3 separate regions of the Homo sapiens genome follow, and regions 1 and 2 are each linked to region 3. Evidence: promoter capture Hi-C in 16 types of primary human blood cells and fetal thymus (Javierre and others, 2016). All regions are on one chromosome and are shown on one strand. Each heading gives the region's core, a stretch centred on a gene start or on the middle of the fragment in contact. The rest is flanking DNA. Distances are from core to core; before and after follow the strand shown.

Evidence for each region. The method cuts DNA at HindIII sites, captures the fragments that hold promoters and counts their contacts. A CHiCAGO score of 5 or more calls a contact.
Region 1: a contact is called between a fragment that was not itself captured here and the fragment with the promoter of FAR2-AS1 in region 3, in 1 of 17 cell types (monocytes). The highest score is 6.5, in monocytes.
Region 2: a contact is called between a fragment that was not itself captured here and the fragment with the promoter of FAR2-AS1 in region 3, in 1 of 17 cell types (megakaryocytes). The highest score is 5.6, in megakaryocytes.

What each region holds. Positions count from the first base shown.
Region 1 is chr12:29,040,777-29,045,050 of GRCh38, forward strand. LOC101928735 (a long non-coding RNA gene) reads left to right here. Exons shown (of 5, transcript XR_242930.3): 1 at 1-116; 2 at 677-858; 3 at 1,092-1,232; 4 at 1,467-1,522. Among named protein-coding and RNA genes, the nearest start is that of FAR2, 110 kb to the right of the region's middle. RefSeq lists an enhancer at 616-1,815. The HindIII fragment of the contact is 2,430 bases long and covers 1,328-3,757 here.
Region 2 is chr12:28,991,023-28,995,374 of GRCh38, forward strand. No RefSeq gene overlaps it. Among named protein-coding and RNA genes, the nearest start is that of FAR2, 160 kb to the right of the region's middle. The HindIII fragment of the contact is 1,383 bases long and covers 666-2,048 here.
Region 3 is chr12:29,316,409-29,321,055 of GRCh38, forward strand. FAR2-AS1 (FAR2 antisense RNA 1) reads right to left here and starts at 1,440. Exons shown (of 7, transcript NR_103860.1): 1 at 1,300-1,440. It overlaps FAR2 (fatty acyl-CoA reductase 2), which reads left to right. Exons shown (of 12, transcript NM_001271783.2): 9 at 433-604. The HindIII fragment of the contact is 3,353 bases long and covers 1-3,190 here.

The DNA of each region.
Region 1 (4,274 bases), core at 1,293-3,792, 270 kb before region 3:
GGCCTTGCCTCTATTTTGTTTTCAGTTCTACTCCCTAAGAGCCTCAGCATAAATATGAGAGGAGATAAAGGGAAAGTTAAGAAACTTCTGTTAGCATTCTGATGTTCAAACCCAAGGTAAAATTTTAAAAATTAACCAGGTGTGGCAGCATGCACCTGTGGTCTCGGATATATTGGAGGCTGAGGCAGGAGGATCACTTGAGCCCAGGAGTTGAGTCTGCAGTGAGTCAGGTTTGCTCTCCTGCAAAACATAGCCTGGGTGACAGAGCAAGACCCTGTCTCAAAACAACAACAACAACAACAAAAAATCAAACTAAATCAACAAACAAACAAAAATCATTAAGAATAAGATCCTTAGTACAATTCAATGTTTTAAAAATAAAAAATTTATATATTTAACAAATCTGTTCAAAAATTAAGTAAATTGTTACATAGTTAACATAAACTGTTATACACTCATATGTTAACATGCACATGTTACTCATATACATATGTATATACTTATACACTTATATGTTAACACATTACATACTATTCAACTCATAACTCATATTTTAAAATTATCTAAGGACATTAAAAATTATCATATTATAAAGTCAAGTGTAAAAAATGCACAAACATTATCAGTGAGTTTTCAGTTTATATGAGTAAGGTGGTGTATTTTCTTTTCACTGCAGTCTTGATCTTCCTGTTGAGGGCCATCCAAGAGCACCATGATGAAGTGGAAAGAGATTGTTCACAAGAATGATCACTTACAGAAGACTGAGCCCAAGGCCCTTGCTGATGGATTCCCAGACTTATATGCATCCGAGATTGAAGAACTTAAACATCTTGCCCTTGCCATGACCACAAATCAGAGGTAAAGTTCAAACAATGCCTCAGATGTCTCAGAACCAAGCACTTCTGAAGTGTCTGCTGAGCTTAGCAGAGTTTCTGCTGCAGAATGGGTGACAGTATAGGGGCATAAAAGTTTGTTCTAAAAACAGTGGGAAAACGGAGGAACTGTTCTATATATAGAAACAGGAGTAATAAAAGTCTTTCATAGCATAAGAATGCAACTAGCAGTGACTAATGTCTTGTGGTTCTTTCTAGAGTAATAAAATTTAATGTCCATGGACTTTGACCTTCAAAAGACCAAAGACAGGCTGTTTCAAGAACGCGGTCTTGAACAATTTGTTGACATCTTCACAAAAGAAAAATAATTCTCTAAATCAGTAACTGAGTCTCCGGAAGGTAAGGAATCCTGATTTCATGAAATAAGGACAGCATCACAGATCTAAGGGGAAACAAAGCCTGAAAAAGAGGAAGAAAGGAAAAGACTATTCGTAAGCTTTCAAAGGAGATTGGATGGAAATTCTGTAATTAGAAGGTTACCATGTGTGGAGGGCTGTGGGGCAGGCAGCATTCAGTGTCATTTTGCATTCTTATAGAGATCTGAAATGTGTTTCCTTACTTTGCCTTTTCCAGGTTTCTTCTTGGAAACCCCCACATAGTCTCATGAGCACCTACAATGACAGAAAGGGGTAAGTCAGCAGCCCCATGTCTTTGAAATTATTGGATCGAAATTCTCCTTTCCTTTAGTTATACCTGCCATCTCTTTAATTCAGAAACAATTCTGAACTTTAGTGAATTTTTTGCAATCGTTTTATTCCTAGCTTAGGACTGTTTCTGCTCCTGAAAATCATAGAATTCCCAGATTCTGTGGGTGAGAAATCACTTCATCAGAGACACAATAAAAAACAATCAATGTTTTGAAAATGCAAAGTCTGGGTTGGTCACTGTGACTCCTGCCTGTAATCCCAGCACTCTGGGAGGCCTAGATGAATGGATGGCTTGAGCTCAGGAGTTCGAGAACAGCCTGCGCAACATGGTGAAACCCTGTCTCTACCAAAAATGCAAAAAATTAGCTGGGCATGGTAGCATGTGTCTGTAGTCCTAACTACTCAGGAGGCTGAGATGGGAGGATCACTTAAGGCAGAGGTTGCAGTGAGCCAAGATCTGGCCACTACTGCACTCCAGCCTGGGTGACAGAATGAGACACAGTCTCAAAAAAAAAAAAAAAAAAAAAGGAAGAAAAGTTTGTCACTTGAAATTTTTTTTATTATACTTTAAGTTCTTGAAATTTTTGAAGTATCATAATAGACACACTCCTAAGGGAAAGAAAATGGGAAATTACTATTTATTTATACTAATGTTTTAAAATATATATTCTCCCAGTGATCGTTTGTTTATAATGATTTGATCAGTTTCGTCTCTATTTAGTGTACTGGCAACATCTTTAGACATCAGCAAGACTCAGGAGTAACATGTTTTTGTGCTACCCATAAAATAAACAATTTTTTTCTCCAGTCAATAATCATCTCTCATCTTTCAACACAGTTGCTCTACTGCTTACTATAGGTCTGTTTTGAGTTAATTTTCAGTGAAAGGCAGGCAATTTTAACTATGAATCTTCTTTCCTGGATCAAATGACCTACCCTCCCCCAAAACATGACATGTTATTCATAATCCTGCAGTTTTATTAAGTCATGTACTCTTTCGACAAATAAAGGAGAATTCAGTTTAACTACTGACTATCACCAGATGGAATGGTTGCTACAATAAGACAAACAATCTAGTCATTGCAAGTAACCAAGATGAGCAACTTAGTTCTCTGAAAAGTTATCTAAATAAATTACTGGTCATCATACATTTTTGTGCAAAATGCTAAGAAATCTTGTTTCTTATATATTCTAGTGATTATTGTCCTTCATTTATTATTTTCAATTATGTCTCTAAAATATAACAACAGGAACAACTAAAACACAGTGTCAAAAGTGAGCTCTTCATTAAAAAAAAAACATGCACAGGATATTTGGTGCTAGTCCCAGTGGAGATTTAGGAGATTTTCAATCTGTTCAGGCCAATGATCACTGAAGCCACAGTATGACTCTATTTATTCATTTATTACAGAAAATTATTCTACAAATAGAGTAAAAATTAAGTGCCTATAGTGTGATAGTTGCCTTGTCTGGCACTACAGAGATGGCTAATTATCACTCTCAAAAATAAAGGACATTATGGGATGTAATACAATAATTGCCACAATAGTCAGCATATGATCAGTGTCTCAAAGAGAAATTCTGATGAAATACTCTGAGAGGAATGAACAAAGAAGGGAGTATTTGAAAATGGCACTGGACCACGAGCAAGATTTCAGTGGACAGGGAAGGCATTGCTGGTGGGACGTTCACTGAGCAGTCAAGAAGCAGGAAAGTGCACAGTACATTTTGAAACCAGCAAGGTGACTACTTTGGTTTCTATAGGAGAGTAACAGGAAAAAACTAGGGACAAATATTAGCTGGTGTCTACTCTCTGGATAAAGGAAGCAAAGAGTCCAATTAAACCTCTGACTATCACAGGAATACATACTGTATAAACCAGCATGATGAATTACATAAAAGGATTCATTCCAGACAAACTTGTGAAGGGGATGAAATTAGTCTTTGATTCTCATATTGTACTCCCTTCAGTGTGGTAATGCTTTCTTTAAAAATTTACTTGCAGCTCCTTACTTTATAGGAAATTGTAAAATTCTGGTTAACATCTTCAACTGTTACCTCAGAGATGTTCTATGTATTTTAATTAGAATAAAAGACTTATCATGGGAAAAATAGACACCCATAAGACACACGTACCTGCACATGTATCCACTGACCCTAAAATGAAAGTTGAAAAAGAAAAAATAAAATAAAATCAAAATTTTTAAGAGAATAAAAAGCTTTTTAAGGGTAAAACTAGAATTTCAAGCATAAATCGGTGCATAAAGAAAAATTGGGGACAGTATTAACTATCTTCTGCAAGTTTCTAAAATCAGTTACCACCTGTAGAATTAAAGCTCCATCTAAATGTTATCTGAGCCCTTGAACTTTCAGGTAGAATTTATTTTTCTTCCACAGCTATACAGATCCTGGGAGTAAAACTTCTAATGCTGCAGAACGTGAAAAATTCCACTAAAGAAGTAGTTCTAAGCATGTGGTGAGGGGTACTAGAGCATTCGATGCTGGTTATTTAGGCAACATCCATTATGAACTCATCTCTCTGTTTGTTTCTTCCATAGAAGCCGGAGTGCCTACACTTTTTATCTAGCCTCCCTTGCAAATACAGATGACTATGTCACATACTTCTGGCCACAGAGACTGAAGCAGAGGTCTGCTGGGGGACCTTCTGGAAAACATATGCTTCACTGATAAAAGGGACAGATAGAGTTTATTGATATCTTACAGCTAACATTAT
Region 2 (4,352 bases), core at 107-2,606, 330 kb before region 3:
ATAGGCTCACAATCTGCATTTTAGCATGAGGCCTGGGTGAGTTGTTGAAGCACTGTCCTCTAGCCATTCCTAAAAGGAGCAGAGGGAGCAAAATCTAATGGGAGAGAAGGAAGGCATATAATTGGGAAGAGAAAGGTGAATGCTGAAGTGCATTTCCGATCCCTGTTTTCAGCCTATGTCAAGCAGACCAACTCTTCCTTTAAAAAGTTGTAAAGTAGGACAATAATCAACACACTGCACTTTGTTGTTTTTAAGGCATCTTAGAAATTCTATCTGAAACTCAAATGGGTGCCTCCAGCAGAATTATGGTATTTTACACACAACTGTAAAAATCACCCAGGAAGGTTTTCCTCAGGCAGTATAACTGGGTCTCACATTATGGTATCCGGTCCAATCAGTGCTGTTTTTCTAAAAATAAAATAAACTTTTTATTAAAAATAAGCATAACCATAAATACACAATGTTCTCTAGTTGCTAATTGAAACAACAATGCACAATTTAGTGTAAAATGAAAAAGAAATACCTTTTGGTATCTTTTTCACTAAATAGTTTTCAATTGCTGTTTAATCTAATTGCTTTATATCCATAGAAACAAAACTTACCACAAGCCTTTCCTTAAAGTCAAAATAGCCTTACAGGGATATAGGACTTCAGCAGCATTTTGAAGCTTAAGCACAATTTGGCAGACCACTTTCTTCTACTTTAAAGCAATACCTACGTGCAAACCATTCATTGTACACTCACAGCACTTCAAATATCTTAAATGCTCCCTCCTGTTTCTGCTGGGCCTTTGATAGTGAGACAATTAGCTTTTTGATACAACCCCTATCATAAAAGAAGGCCTCCTCTTTACAATTCACCCATCCAGTGGGCACCAAGATTCTCTGATGAAACTAGACATGCTGTCTCTCCTTTTTCCCTCCGAGACTCTGAGCTTACCTTGAGATTTTCCTCAGAATTGATTTTTACACCAACTTAAATAAGTGTCTATACACTTTCCTTGCTTTTCCAGATACTTAACAGATCTACTTTTAATGAAAGGTGACAGACCATTTTCCTCTTTTGAACGTTTGTTTTTAAAAGAAAATAGGCTTTTACATCAACCTACACAGTAGTTTTTCCACATGAAGACAAGGCTTGTTTGTTTGAAGAAGTCTCTGCTGGTTGTGCCTATTGAGATGGCAAATTACAAAGAAATGATTTGAGTATGTTCTACTTTATTTCAACATAATGATTTGCTTGTAAAATACATGAGAGGAAGAAAAATTCATGAGGATATTTTCAAGATCAGAGAACTAACTCAGAAGTAGGATTGGGATCATCTCGCCTGAAGATAAAAGTTCTTAACCATATGAAGGTTAGAAATACGGCTTCCAGAGTTTACTGCCTTGGTTCAAAGCCTGCCTTCACCAAAACTATGTTGGCAAATTGGGCAAATGACTTATCTGTGCCTTGGTTTCCCCATCAGAATAATTTTTAAAAAACTACTTATTAGTGTTGTCATGAAGATTGAGTTAATATGCACAAAACACCTTAAAATACTTAACATATAGCAAGCACCATATAAATAATCACTATTATTAGATGTAGTCTACCAGGTGGTAAAAATGAACAATTTTCCTAACATACTCAATACTATCCTTGCTTTCACCATAATTCTAGGCTTTGTGTAATCTACTTTACTTTTTTTTAAATTTGACATTCTTGCCCTCAAGGAGTTTGAAGAATTTTAATTATCCCCCCAGCAGTTATTCTGGTAATATATGCATTCACCCTTTCTGGAATATGGAGAAACTGAGGAACTAACAGTATATCTGACTTAATTATGGGGCAAAAAATGCCAAGCCTTCTGCCCAACTCTTTTGACGCTAAGCCAAATGTTCTTTCAACTAAAATACACTTCTTTAAAACTAGTTCTAATCTGTTTTGACCTCGGAAGTTCTGAGAACCTTCGGTTTTCAGCTTTTCCATCTTTTGGATGTGGCCACCAATAAACATTCATTCCCACTACTGGAAATCGCCAAAAACACTTAAAAAGAGTTGAAGGAAGCTTGTGTGTGGCTAGGAGGGCCTGAACAAAATCAATCCTCTTGACATAAATCAGAAGCATTCTCAGTCTTTCATTTCCCTATTTATTCATAAGAAGGTGGCCAAAGCGTAAGAAGGTGGTCGGAGCTTACTATACAGCTGGAAAAATGAATCTTTGAGAAGTGAAGGGACAAGACCTACATTGTCATCTAAGAAAACTAACAGGATGGAAAAAGAGAAGTGTCTTTATTCTCTCTGGGGATTCTTTGATTACTGGAAGAATTGAATTGCTAGGTGGCCGCACTGCTTTGGGCCTCTTATTCTCTCTCCAAGGCAATTGTTCTCTGCAGCATAATCTGCAGGCCCCCTAAGTCAACCTCAGCAAGTGGATGATACCCAAGAAAGGTTATTGTTCCCCCCAAATCCCTCAAAATCTTGGTGCTTCTGTGAACTGTATTCAAACTTCTGCCTTTCATGAATGGAGCTGGAAATCTCGTGAGAACATGTTTCCTGGAGGTTATTTTTGAGACTTCTTGCTTCTGGTCTCAGCCACCAGAAGAGATAAAAGCAGGAACTCGATTGAAGAGGAAAGGAGAGGAACATGCAGTTGGGGGAACGTTTCCATTCTTAGTCATTGATCCAATTAATATCTGGAGTAGAGGCTTCAGTTGGTTCAGGTTGAATCTGAAACCATTCTATTGCAATATCATATATCAGGAACTGTACTTTGTAATCGGGCCCTGAAAAGTACAGCCAGCTATTCCCTGGTGCACTGCTCAGAGCTGAAATACTTGAGCAGGGAGGTGAGGCCTGTGCTCTGTCCAGGGTCTGGATGACTCCTGCTTTGTTTCCAGGCTGTGGCGCTGCACCCTGATCTTTGTGCTTCCTTGTCTGTACAAACACCACAACCGTTTGAAAAATGGGTATCTGCCTACTTGTGAATTTGTGGATGGCAAATTCACAGTGTGGGGAGGGAGGCAGCACTGTCAGTTTGGACTTACCCAAACACCTCAAAGTATGTTTCAAATGGCGCTGGGTTCGGCAAAACCCTAAAGTATGTTTGGTCTGCTTTTCTGTCTCCTTTTTCAAGGGAAATTTAACCCATATGTTTCTGACACATTTACACTTAATTCACCAAAACATTGTTTTATGAAACCACTGGATGTCCAGGGCTCTTTAAGAGTTCTTTTCATGGAACTTTTTCAAGCTTTTTTTTTTTTTTTTTTCTTAGAAACAGGAAGTCACATTTGTGCCGAAAGTTAAAAGAACCCAAACCTTAAAAAAAAATTTGGAATTCTATCAGGAGTTCCAAATCCAGAGATTTCCAGGGGGTTCTAAACTTGGCAAACCATTTCATGTTTTGCAAGCAGAAGGCCTATAAACAGAATCAAGCGTTAGGCTCCACATTCAAGCTGTGAGCACACCCTCTTCTATCTTACATTACGAGAGATATAAAATGCACTCAGTGAGGGAATTATAATGATTATGCTGCACATAAAAGAAAACCTTAAGTGCTTTGGTGGGACCATCAAAACCTGTGCAGGAAGATCTGAGTTTCATCCATGCCTTGGGGTAGATTTGACTGTTTCAGGTACTAAGTAAATTATAGGCTCCCCAGTACTCTAAGTCCTGACTTTTTGAAAATAGAATGTGAGAGATTTGGGCCAAAGGTGTTTTGTTGCTGCAGAGCTCAAAATGAAAACCAAGGCCAGGAGCTTCAGTTGCAAAACCTGGGGTTTATGGCTGCAAGGGGGAAGAACAGGCTTTTTCCTCCCAGGACTATAATTACTATTACTTTACATTAGGGTCTTGCCAACGGTACTGCTCCCAGGCCCGGCCTTCTTGCCCTCTTACTGAATGCTTTATTTTTCTGCCCAGGGTCTCTAACTTAAGTGCATTACAGCCAAGTTTAGTCATCTGATTTCTCCCAAGATTCATCAGTCCTCTGCCAGCATTGTACTTTAAGAATCTCATAAAAGCTACCTTCCTTTTACTGTATAAATATGACTTCTACAGTCACTCAAAATTAAACATTTTTCATAATGATACAACACAACCATGTTTTTATTTTCAAGCCTTGGGAAATCTACTCTCCTCTTAGGCCCAAAATGAAGGAGAATCTATATCTCATGTGCCCTGGCTTCTCAACCCAATGACTTGAGCAGAAATCCTCACTCCAACTTCATCTTCATGTCTATGATGAACCCATGAAAGGTGGACAGAGACCTGGAATGAGCTACCTAAGGTGACCAGTGAGGGCTCTGAAGTTTCTTAGAGCTCACTCCACTGATTACTCCTGCAGCTTTAGAGGTAGCTCTTCCCCA
Region 3 (4,647 bases), core at 190-2,689:
TTTAATAAAGATTCAAATAAAATGTTAAGAAACTTTCTAAATGGTTCTGAAAGTAATGGTCCAGCCAGGGAAATAAGGTCTCTCGCCTCTGTCTTGGGGCTTTCAGAATAGACTGGATGACCTTAGAATTAAAGGCAGATTCATGTTTTTCTGAACAGTACCTCCTTGTATTGACAAGTGTTTCCCCAATAGTTTGTTTTACAGTAAATGCTTCAACTAAAGAATCCAATTATTAACCCATTCACACTGTTTCAGTTTGCAGATAACCATTTGCCCAGCACAAAAATCTTTATATTGTTCTCAGAAATTGATTCTTGACTCTACACAGCAAATCCTTCGTCTTTATTGTTTTGACCCATTACAAATGCTTTCCACTATGATGGACTTATATTCTCCTTTTCTCCTCTAGCACTTACTTTCTTTTTTCCCCAGGAGTCCAAGTCTTGGCAACCTTTGAAAAAATCCCATTTGAGAGACCTTTCAGGAGGCCAAATGCTAATTTTACCAGCAACAGCTTCACATCACAGTACTGGAATGCGGTCAGCCACCGGGCCCCTGCCATTATCTATGACTGCTATCTGCGGCTCACTGGAAGGAAGCCCAGGTGAGAAGCTGAGTCAATGGCTTTGAGAGTGTCACTGCATGGGAGATTAAGGCCCCAAAATCTTTAGTGCTTCCTTCAGCCGAGGATTAAAGGAGACAACTGAATCTTACCCATATATACAGATTGAACACACCTAATCTGAAAATCCAAAATCTGAAATTCTCCAAAATCCAAAACGTTTTGAGTGCTGACATGATGCCACAAGTGGAAAATTCCACATACCTTACCTCATGTGATGGGTCACAGTCAAAAGACATTCAAAACTGTTTCATACATAAAATTATTTAAAATATTATGTAAGATTACCTTCAGGCTCTGTGTATATGGCTAAGTGTGTATGAAACAGAAATGAATTTTGTGTTTAGACATGGGTCCCATCCCCAAGATAGCTCATTACATATATGCAAATATTCCAAAATCTGAAAACAATCAAAACCCAAAACACTTCTGGCCCAAGTATTTCACATAAAGGATACTCGACCTGTATAAGTTTTGAACAAAGCAGTCATAGTGAGAAGCCACAAAAGACATTAAAAATGTTCCAGCACAATAAAGGAAGGTAAATGTTAAAGAGGTTGATGAATTCAGCAAGTAATCATTCATGCGAAAAGAAAAGCAATTGAGACTCTGTCACTAGGGTTTTCTGAATAGGTAGATAATCTTAAATATACAATAATGATGACAACCTCACTTACTGAGAGTTTACTGTGGCACTCGTGGGGCTAAGGCTGATGCATGATGATCCCATTTTCATTGTCACAGCTACCCAAGGAAGATGTCCTCATCATCCCAATTTTACAAATGGGGAAATAGAAGCTAAGGAAAGAATCTGAATTAGTCTCAAAGGAAGTGACAGGAAGGATGTGGAGAAAGCCGAGTCTCAAAGTCAGTATTCGGAACCAGATTTACTGCCACCTAGAGATGAGTGAAGAAATTAGAGGGAACACAGTGTGCTGATGCTAAGGCAGCTGTCACCACCTAGCTGTGTGACACAGGACATACGCCTTTATCTGTCTCGCTTGAATAATATTATGTGTCAGAGGAGTCATTGTTATAATTGCCTAAGGCAATTCTCGTGATCAAGAATCAGAAGTATGAACAGTATTGCCTTCTGTGCTAGCCCCTTTATAAGGGAGGAAGTCTTCTTCAGCGTGTTTGTCATCTTTATTAGCAGTGCAAATGACTAAAACTTAGCCAATGTAGAGTTTATCTAAATTTTTAAAGACCTCATTTGGAGCTCATAACTCAGTTCTTGAGCAAGGTGAAAAGGAAACATTGTGATTATGGGGAAAATATTTGTATGGGGCTTATTAAATAAAGACAGGAAAAGAAGAAAACCCAAATATTGTAGGCAGAAATGCTAAAGGTTTTAAAATATATCAGGATTGGAAGAGGGCCTGCATAAAGAACAAAGTTCAGTTAGGAAAAAAGAGAAACACAGAAGGAAGAGACACAATAAAAATCTATATGTATCTTGTGAGAAGTCAAACAGTAATATTTGTGGGAAATGGGTTGGTTTGTTGTGTGGTATGTATTTTAGCAATAATCTTTATGGCAGAAAAAGCTGAAATCCTTCTAGACCCTTTCCTGCTCCAGGTGTGCTTGTGTATACTCTCCTATGCTTTTACATCCATATATGGACGTACATAGTTTGCTTTGCAGTAGGGGGGTATGTGTGTATATAAATCAATTGTACATATTTTACAACTTTTTCCACTAATTTTCCATGAAAATCTAAGTCATTCTGCCCGGTGTTGTCTTTTTTTTCTACTGCAAATAGGGCAATGAATATCAGTGTGCATGCCTCTTTGTAGAATGTGCCTGTGTCAGGAGAGGATGCTGAGGAGGGAGACTGCTGGATTGAAGAGTATGTGGAGTTTGTGACTAGTGCCAGGTGACCCTCCCTAAGGAAGAGACTGTCAATTGGCACTACCACAACAGTGTATGAAGGGTACAAAAGTCTTTTTTTTTTCTTTTTCTTTTTTCTTTTTTTTTTGAGATGGAGTCTTGCTTTGTCACCTAGGCTAGAGTGCAGTGGCGAGATCTCAGCGCACTGCAACCTCTGCCTCCTGGGTTCAAGCGATTCTCCTGCCTCAGCCTCTCGAGTAGCTGGGATTACAGGCGCCCGCCACTGTGCCTGGCTAATTTTTGTATTTTTAGCAGAGATGGGGTTTCACGATCTTGACCAGGCTGGTCTCGAACTCCTGACCTCAAGCAAGTCACCCGCCTCGGCCTCCCAAAGTGCTGGGATTACAGGCATGAGCCACCGCGCCCGGCCAAGGGGTACAAAACAGTATGTCTTACCCTCTTAATGGGGGTAAGAATACTTTGTAAAAATCAACTTCTGAATTGTCAAACTCATAAGGAATGACATCTTTTTGTTTTTTTGATTTGCATTCATGATTGCTGGAGGGGCTGGACTTTCATTCATTTATTGGACATTTAAGTTTTCCCCTCTGTGTGCTGCCTGCTTCTGCTCCCTATTTTCCTATTGGGTTGTCCTTATTAATGTATGGGAACATGTGTGTGTGAATACATATTTCATATATTTTCTCCAGGTCTGTTTCTTTTTAGCTTTGACTATAAAGCTTTTTGTAATATGAGTGAAGATACATATAATGCAGGGCTTAGGAACATGGAGTTTGGAGTCAGGCTTATAGGATTTAAATCCTGGCTTCACCAATTTAGCCATTAGAGCCCTAAATTACTTCATCTCTCTAAATCCTAACTTCCTATTCTGTAAAATGGGCACAGTAATCGTAACCTATTTTATATAGTTTAATATGAGTGCTTAGAATATAATAATCCCTATTAATACTAAAGATGTTTAAAATTTTTATGTGGTAAAATGAATCAATCATTGTTTTCCTTCAGCTTTTGCATTTTGGGTATTAAGAAGACCTTCTTGGCTGGGTGTGGTGGCTCACACCTGTAACCCCAGCAATTTTGGAGGCTGAGGAAGGAGTATCACTTAAGCCCAGGACTTCAAGACCAGACTAGGCAACATAGTGAGACCCCATCACTACAAAAATAAAATTTAAAAACGTTGTCCAGGCATGGTGGCATGTGCCTGTAGTCCCAGCTACTCAGGAGTCTGAGGCAGAAGATTGCTTGAACCCAGGAGGTCAAGGCTGCAGTGAGTCATGATTGAGCCACTGCACTACAGCCTGGGCAATAAAGCGAGACCCTGTCTCAGACAAACAATAAAGACCTTCTCTATCTGGGAGTAATACAAGTATATTTTCTAAAACATATCATTAGGTTGATATAGTTCTGTACATCCAATGATATCATGTCCAACCGTTATTTTTAACAATTAAAATAAATGTATTGAAATCATATCAATTGCATCAGAGTTGGAGAATGACTAAAGATTTAGATAATAGTAAAGTGGAACCCTATTATGGTGCTTATATCAGGCACAATGATGTCTACCTCATGCCTAAGAAATTTCCTATGATACAGTAAGAGAAATACCTCATGAGTCATTAAGTACATGGGCATTAACTTTGACCAGAAGTAAGACCAAATCCCCACAATAGCATCATAATTACTGAGCCAACTATAGTAATCACTACTGCCAAGACTGGTTAACTACAAATCAAGTGCTTTACAGGCCAAAAGTGACTTGTAGCTAAAAGACCTAGGTTGGGGATTAGCTATGGGACCTTGAGCATAATCTCTCTGTAAAATGGAGATACATAATATACATCCTGACTATCTTACAGCCATATTGTTAGGATCAAGTAAGATTGTATATGAAAGTTTTTTGTAAATTGTTATAAAGTTGGGAGGTGCACAAAGAAGATCTGGTCCAAGTCCTGACCACAAGATTGGACAGTGTGGTTCATCTTGTGTAATGGGACACAGGGTAGTGAGATTACACAGCGCAGGTTTTTTGAGGTCAGTTAAAACTGGGTTGGAATTTGACTTTGACACTTTTTATCTTAAGCTTATGTTACTCATTTGTAAAACTGCAGACTTACCTAACAAAGATGATATCAAAATTAGCAGAGAGAATACTTTGTGAAAGTATCAGGACT